2 separate regions of the Homo sapiens genome follow, and region 1 is linked to region 2. The links are contacts of gene promoters, found by promoter capture Hi-C in blood cells and fetal thymus (Javierre and others, 2016). All regions are on one chromosome and are shown on one strand. The core of a region is centred on a gene start or on the middle of the fragment in contact, and the rest is flanking DNA. Distances in the headings are between cores, read along the strand shown. Region 1 overlaps ZNF106 (zinc finger protein 106). Region 2 holds the start of VPS39 (VPS39 subunit of HOPS complex).

Evidence for each region. The method cuts DNA at HindIII sites, captures the fragments that hold promoters and counts their contacts. A CHiCAGO score of 5 or more calls a contact.
Region 1: a fragment that was not itself captured here is called in contact with the fragment with the promoter of VPS39 in region 2 in 2 of 17 cell types (megakaryocytes and endothelial precursors); the score reaches 5.7 in megakaryocytes.

What each region holds. Positions count from the first base shown.
Region 1 is chr15:42,467,482-42,470,748 of GRCh38, reverse strand. The region is part of intron 2 of ZNF106 (zinc finger protein 106); the gene reads left to right. Among named protein-coding and RNA genes, the nearest start is that of ZNF106, 22 kb to the left of the region's middle. The HindIII fragment of the contact is 6,354 bases long and covers 1-3,267 here.
Region 2 is chr15:42,206,810-42,210,184 of GRCh38, reverse strand. It overlaps VPS39 (VPS39 subunit of HOPS complex), which reads left to right and starts at 1,881. Exons shown (of 25, transcript NM_015289.5): 1 at 1,881-2,104. The coding sequence starts at 2,032. VPS39-DT (VPS39 divergent transcript) reads right to left here and starts at 1,784. Exons shown (of 3, transcript XR_932181.3): 1 at 1,501-1,784; 2 at 1,268-1,421. The HindIII fragment of the contact is 2,996 bases long and covers 1,249-3,375 here.

The DNA.
Region 1 (3,267 bases), core at 551-3,050, 260 kb before region 2:
CTGTTCAGAGATGTGATATCAGAGTTTCATAGAATAGCAGCCCTATCTTGTGATACCATGATTTTGTGATTTTGCCATTTTAAATCTTTCTGGCTCTGCTACTCTGGTTTCAAACATACTTTTATCTCTTCATACTTTTCCATGATCATAATGAAGTTAAATGAAGGGCTGGAATTATCTACTCCTGCCCTAGGAAAAGCTGATTGTAGTTTTTATTTATTTTCCTTTTTTTTAAAAAAAGGAAAAGCTGGTTGTAGTTTTTATTTTTATTTTTTGCCTTTTTATTTTTTTTTAAAGCAAGGGAATGGCCTGCTTTAAGTGAGTGGTATGACTTAAGAAAGTAACAAAATGGGTTAGTTGGAAGGGATAACTGATACTTATTTTCAGATAGGACTATGAACAATTGGTGTTGAAGCCATGCTTGTCTCCAATTTCCCAAACTAGTGTAACTCTGGTTTCTCCAAATAAACTATGGAGGAGAAAAGGTTCTAAGTGACTTGAGTATGGGGAAAAGCTGTGTAAGGTATCCCTGAGTATCCTGAGGCCCATTAACATAAAATACTGAGAAGCCCTGGAGTTAAATATATGTGTATAATAGAGATGGAGTCTTACTGTGTTGCCCAGCCGGTCTTGAACTCCTGGCCTCAAGTGTGAGCCACTACACCTGGTCATATTTTTTGTATTATTCAATGTTTTCCACATGTGTTTAACCATGAGTCCCCCCTCCCCTCCAACCAACCCAGCCTTTAAAAATATAATACTGATTAATATACAAGGCCTAAATAGAAGCCTAATACATGAGAAGGAATGCATTTGGGGCTATTACCTTAATCCTGTGCCTGTGGATCTTTTTTCTTTTCTTTCTTTCTTTTTTTTCTTTTTTTTTTTTTGTTGTTGTTTTGTTTCATTTTGAGACAGGGTCTTACCCTGCTGTCTAGGCTGGAGTGCAGTGGAGCCATCTCAGCTCACTGCAACCTCTGTGTCCCAGGCTCAGGTGATGCTCCCGTCTCAGCCTCCTGAGTAGCTGGGACTACAGGCATGTGCTATTTTTTAATTAAAAATTTTTTTTTGTAGGGATGATGTCTTATTAGGTTGCCCACACTGATCTTGAACTCCTAGGCTCAAGTGATCCTTCCACCTTGACCTCCCAAAGTACTGGGCGTAATTACAGGTGTGAGCCACCATGTCTGGCTGAATTTTTTCTAATGATTTTTGAAAGCTCAGTTGTCTCAATGTTTGTATTCATTCCTTGGAGCAGGATGGGAGAAGGTTTTGCATGTAAATTTAGGACAAGATTAGTGAAGTGTTTTAAAAAAAACAAAAGTCACATTAAAACTATTAGTGGGTGATAACATTTTTATAGTAAGAAGAATCAGTTTTTTTGTCAGACAAACCCATTTCAGTGAATGCTGTTTTGGTCAGGAATGGTTTTGTTGTAAGGAACAGAACTCACTTAAATTTAGCTCAAGTAAAGGGGATTAGGCATATTGGTAAGCATCTAAATCAAGGAGGAATTGAATAACAGGAAGCATTGAATAACAGGACTTGAGAAGTTTTTTTTTTTAGACGGCGTTTTGCTCTTGTCGCCCAGGCTGGAGTGCAATGGTGTGACCTCGGCTCACTGCAACCTCCACCTCCTGGGTTCAAGTGATCCTCCTGCTTCAGCCTCCTGAGTAGCTGGGATTACAGGCATGCGCCACCACGCCCAGCTAATTTGTATTTTTAGTAGAGACGGGGTTTCACCATGTTGGTCAGGCTGGTCTCGAACTCCTAACCTCAGGTGATCCACCCGCCTCCGTCTCCCAAAGTGCTGGGATTATAGGCGTGAGCCACCGTGCCCCACCGAAGATGTGTATATTAATCGATTTTTCATTCTATTCTGTCACTAACTTGTCTTAGTTTTCAGGTCCACAAGTGTTAATTTTAGTTAGCGGCCAGTCAGTTGTGGCTAGAAGAGGTCATGTGTAAAGCTACTCTCTCCTTATTTTTTTATTTTTTATTTTTTTTGAGACGGAGTCTTGCTCTGTCTCCAGGCTGGAGTGCAATGGCGCGATCTTGGCTCACTGCAACCTCCGCCTCCTGGGTTCAAGCGATTCTCCTGCCTCAGCCTTCTGAGTAGCTGGGATTACAGGCACGCGCTGCCATGCCTGGCTAATTTTTGTACTTTTAGTAGAGACGGGGTATCACCATGTTGGTCAGGCTGGTCTCGAACTCCTGACCTTTTGATCCGCCCACCTCAGCCTCCCAAAGTGCTGGGATTATAGGCGTGAGCCACCGCACCTGGCCTACTCTCTCCTTATGAAGCATCTGTAGAGCTAGGAAGGAAACGATGGTAATCTTCAGTAAAATTGCCATTTAAAAGAAGTGTTTTGGCTGGGCACAGTGGCTCATGCCTGTAATCCCAGAACTTTGGGAGGCTGAGGTGGGTGGATCACCTGAGGTCAGGAGTTTGAGACCAGCCTGGCCAACATGGTGAAACCCCATCTCTACTAAAAATACAAAAAATTAGCTGGGCATAGTGGCGCATGCCTGTAATCGAGGCTACTCAGGAGGCTGAGGCAGGAGAAACTCTTGAAACCCTGGAGGCAGAGGTTGTCGTGAGCCGAGATCGAGCCGCTGCTCTCCAGGCTGGGCGATAGAGCGAGACTCCGTCTCAAAAAAAAAAAAAAAAAAAAAAAAAGGCGTTTTGAATCACAACCCTGTTTATCACACTATAGTAGATAACTTTAAGTAACAGTGGGTTGTGTTGTATTGTTTTTGACAAATGAACTGTATATAATGAAAAATTTCAATGCACCAAATGCTTACAGTGTGACATGGTGTTTGAAGCATTAGCTTTGGTGTCAGATCTGCCTGGGTTTGAATCCCACTTTGACCACTTGATTATTTGTCACTCCGAGAGGGCAAGACTAAATATTTTGTTTGTTTGTTTGTTTTTTGAGACAGAGTCTCACTCTTGTTGCCCAGGCTGGAGTGCAGTGGCGTGATACCAGCTCACTGCAACCTCCGCCTTCCCAGGTTCAAGCGATTCTCCTGCCTTAGCCTCCCAAGTAGCTGGGATTACAGGCGTTCACCACCAGCCCAGTTAGTGGTTTGGTTTTTTTTTTTGGATTTTGTATTTTTAGTAGAGATGGGGTTTCACCATGTTAGCTAGGCTGGTCTCAAACTCGACCACATGATCCACCTGCCTCAGCCTCCCAAAGTGCTGGGATTACAGGCATGAGCCACTGTGCCCGGCCAAGACTGAATATTTTCACGCTTAACCTT
Region 2 (3,375 bases), core at 632-3,131:
ATAGTTGTAATGCAGCAGGATAGTTGGTCAAATTATTTTTTTAGGCTGCTTTGATGTTGACTTGAGACTAGGAAAAAAAAAAGCCCATTGTGTTAAGCGGGAGTGTATAGTTCAAGTTCTATAGCCTGGGCCCTGATAATTCTACTTACAGCTTTCTGTATTACTGGGAATAGATATAGTGTGTCATTTCTTAGGTTCAGAAGAAATTGATAGCTTTGCAGTAATCTGTAAAACAATATAAACCTTAGGGTTTTGGGCCTGAACGAAAAGGTACTAGACCTTCCAGCACAACAGCTGGTAATTCTAAATTTTTAAGAAGGTGATCAGCTTCTATGGTGAAAATCAGCTATAACACAGGATTTGTGTAGCAATTTTCATGTTTTTGACTACTTGAAAGTACTTTTCACTTGATTATCAGAACAGCATTTGGTAAAGATGGGACAAGTATTCCTAATTTACATATGAAGAAACTGATATTGTGTAAAAATAAAATGACCAGGACCAGTTTTTTTGACTTCATATCACAGACTTACCCTTTTTCTTTTACATTTTTGCTTTAAACCCAAATGCTTAATTTTTTGACCTACGATGTTTTCCTAGGGGGAAATGACCAGATATAGATCATTCTTGCAGCCCAAACTTTGTTGTTTTTTAAGTCTTCAAGGGGAATACTAAGGTAACCGCAGACAGTACAGGTCCCAGGTCCTATAGGAGGAAAAGCCATGACACCTTCCTAAAGGAATATTAGGATGTAAGACACAGCTTTGGAAAGTTGAATTGGTAGGAATGTGGTCATCAAATTAAAAGGAGGCTTATTTCACTGACTTCCAAGAGTTAGTGAATCATCTCTTGCCTAAACTCTTGCTACTCAAAATGTGATCCAGGGACCAGCAACATCTGGGAGATTTTTGGTGCTCAACTGAGGGTCTTACTCTGGTCCTACTGAATCAAAAGAGGCATTTTAACAATGTCTCTAGGTGATTTGTATGCACGTTAAATTTGAAAAGCATTGGCCTCAAATGGTGGTTCTCAGGGTAATTTTGCCTCCCAGAGGACATACGGAAAAGAGACATTTTTATACCTCTGTGGGGAAGATAACTGGCATTTGGTGGGTGGAAGTTAGGGATGCTGTTAAACATCTTACATTGTACAGAACATGCCCCCTCCCCCAACAAGAAATTATCCTGTCCTAAATGCCGGTAGTGCTATCGCTGAACAACCCTAACCTAAAATGGTGGTTCTCAAGCTTTTAAGTGCATGGACTCACCTTGGGGTTTATTAAAACATAGGTTGCTGTTCCCTTCGAGTTTCAGATTCAGTAGAACTGGAATGGGCCTGAAACTTTGCATTTCTAACAAGTTCACAGGTGCTGCTGCTACTGCTGTTGTTGCTGGTCTAGAACCACTTTCAGAACCACTGGCCTAGAACAACCATGAAAGCATTAAGGTAAGGTGCTTGTACTAATTGGGATATAATGGTAATACTAAAGCTACCACTTACTGAGAGCTTAGTGGGTGTCAGGTGTTGCTAAGCGCTCACGACACTAGGTCACAGGTATTTACAAAAATTTTGCAGATTAGGAAAGTATGGCATCGAAATATTAAATTTTCTAAATCACAGCTAATTTCCTAATTGGTAGATCTCCGTCTGAGGTCGACGCCAAAGGCCGAGTTTTTAACCATCACGCCCACTGCCTAAAGCAGTTCTAAGATTAAGAGTTTGTTCCTTCTATGGTAAGCCCATGGCTACTCGGGATGGAGTAGCTATGGGTCCAGAGTGACGATGGCAACTCAGCAACAAAACAATTCATTTAGAGTGCACCGGGAGGAAGGGGCGGGACTTCGGCTGCGGAAGAGGCGGGCCTAACTAGCAGGAAGTCCGGGGTTGACGATGGCTGTGTTGTTGAAGGGCCTGTAGCCGGGGGGTTCCTGGCCGGATCCCGGTCTACCCTTAGCCCAGACTCGTTCCGGACCCCAGCCCGGCCCGGAACACTCTGGGCGAGACGGCGGTGGCAACTCTCCCCTTGCCGCCATGCACGACGCTTTCGAGCCAGTGCCGATCCTAGAAAAGCTGCCTCTGCAAATCGACTGTCTGGCTGCCTGGGGTGAGCCGAGGGGCCGCGGGGCCGAGGCGGAGTCAGCACAGGAGCGGTCCGGATCTTTTCTGAGGCCGGGGAAGTGGACAGGCGTCCATCCGTGTGGGCTTCGGTTGGATGCTACACGAGAGGGGCTTAGGATGAGAGAAGGCAGAGAGATGACCACCGGCTATAGACATCGATGTCTGTGGGGCTACTTGGGTGATCCCAGTGATCCAGTCATTTAGGGGAGTTCCCCTTGCTTTTGCTCTCTGTGCAGAGTGGGAGGATGAGCTTTCCTTTTTAGTTGTGCTCAGCTTTGGCCCATTTTGATTCCCACGAAGACTTCATTTTAGAGGGTCAAAGCAGTAAGAAGTTCTCAGCCTGCCAGGGGCTTGAAGTTGTCCAGATGTTTGTGTTGTTTTCTAGATGAAAGTCAACCCTGGTTTTGGGGGCATTGAACAAGTTAACACCATATGCTTTTTTTTCCCCTTAGTGATCATTCGTTCATTTCTCATTCCTGTAGGGAACTCATGTAGTTAGCTAACCTTTGAATCTAGCCAAGCGGTTGATTACCTTATATCCAAAGTGTCCAAGTTACCTAACTGTAGGCGGAAGAGTTTCCAGACTGTCTTGAAACCTAACCCATAAAAACTAGCATAGTCCTTTTGGGATTGACTAGTGCAGAAGGCCGGGACAGACATCTCTTGTGTGCTCTGAAATACAAATGAAGGTTTCAGGGATAACGGTGAACATTGTGCTCTTATCCGTGAGTGACTGGTTTGATACCAGCCGCCAAAGACCAAGGAAATCATTTCTAACTTTCCTCTTAATGTTTAGGTCCTAGAAATCAAGGACCATAAAAAGATGATTCAGATCCCTTAATCAGATCTTATACTGAGCTAGATAGGTAACCATGATGGGCCTTATGGAATCTTGGTGGTGTCTGATACCATGTGCGTCAGCTGTTCACAGTGTCACCGAGTCATCCTTGCAGAGTTCTTGATGACTTCTTCTGTAGGGTTCTTTCACGAAGAATTTTCATGTTAATGTGCACCCTTCCTCCTTTAGCAGCTCTGGGTCTCTTTAAAATCATACCTCCACAGTAAGCAGTTCTAGTCCTTTGGGTTAAGAGGAGAATCCTACTTCCTCCAGACATCTCAAGAAAACCAATTTCTGTCATTAAATGCTCTCATTAAACATTTAAATAGAGGAGGAGAAAAAGTTTTTAAATGAAAGACCTGACACTGCATGAAAGGATTAATTCCCCCATTGCTTCATCAGATATACTTATTAGGTGG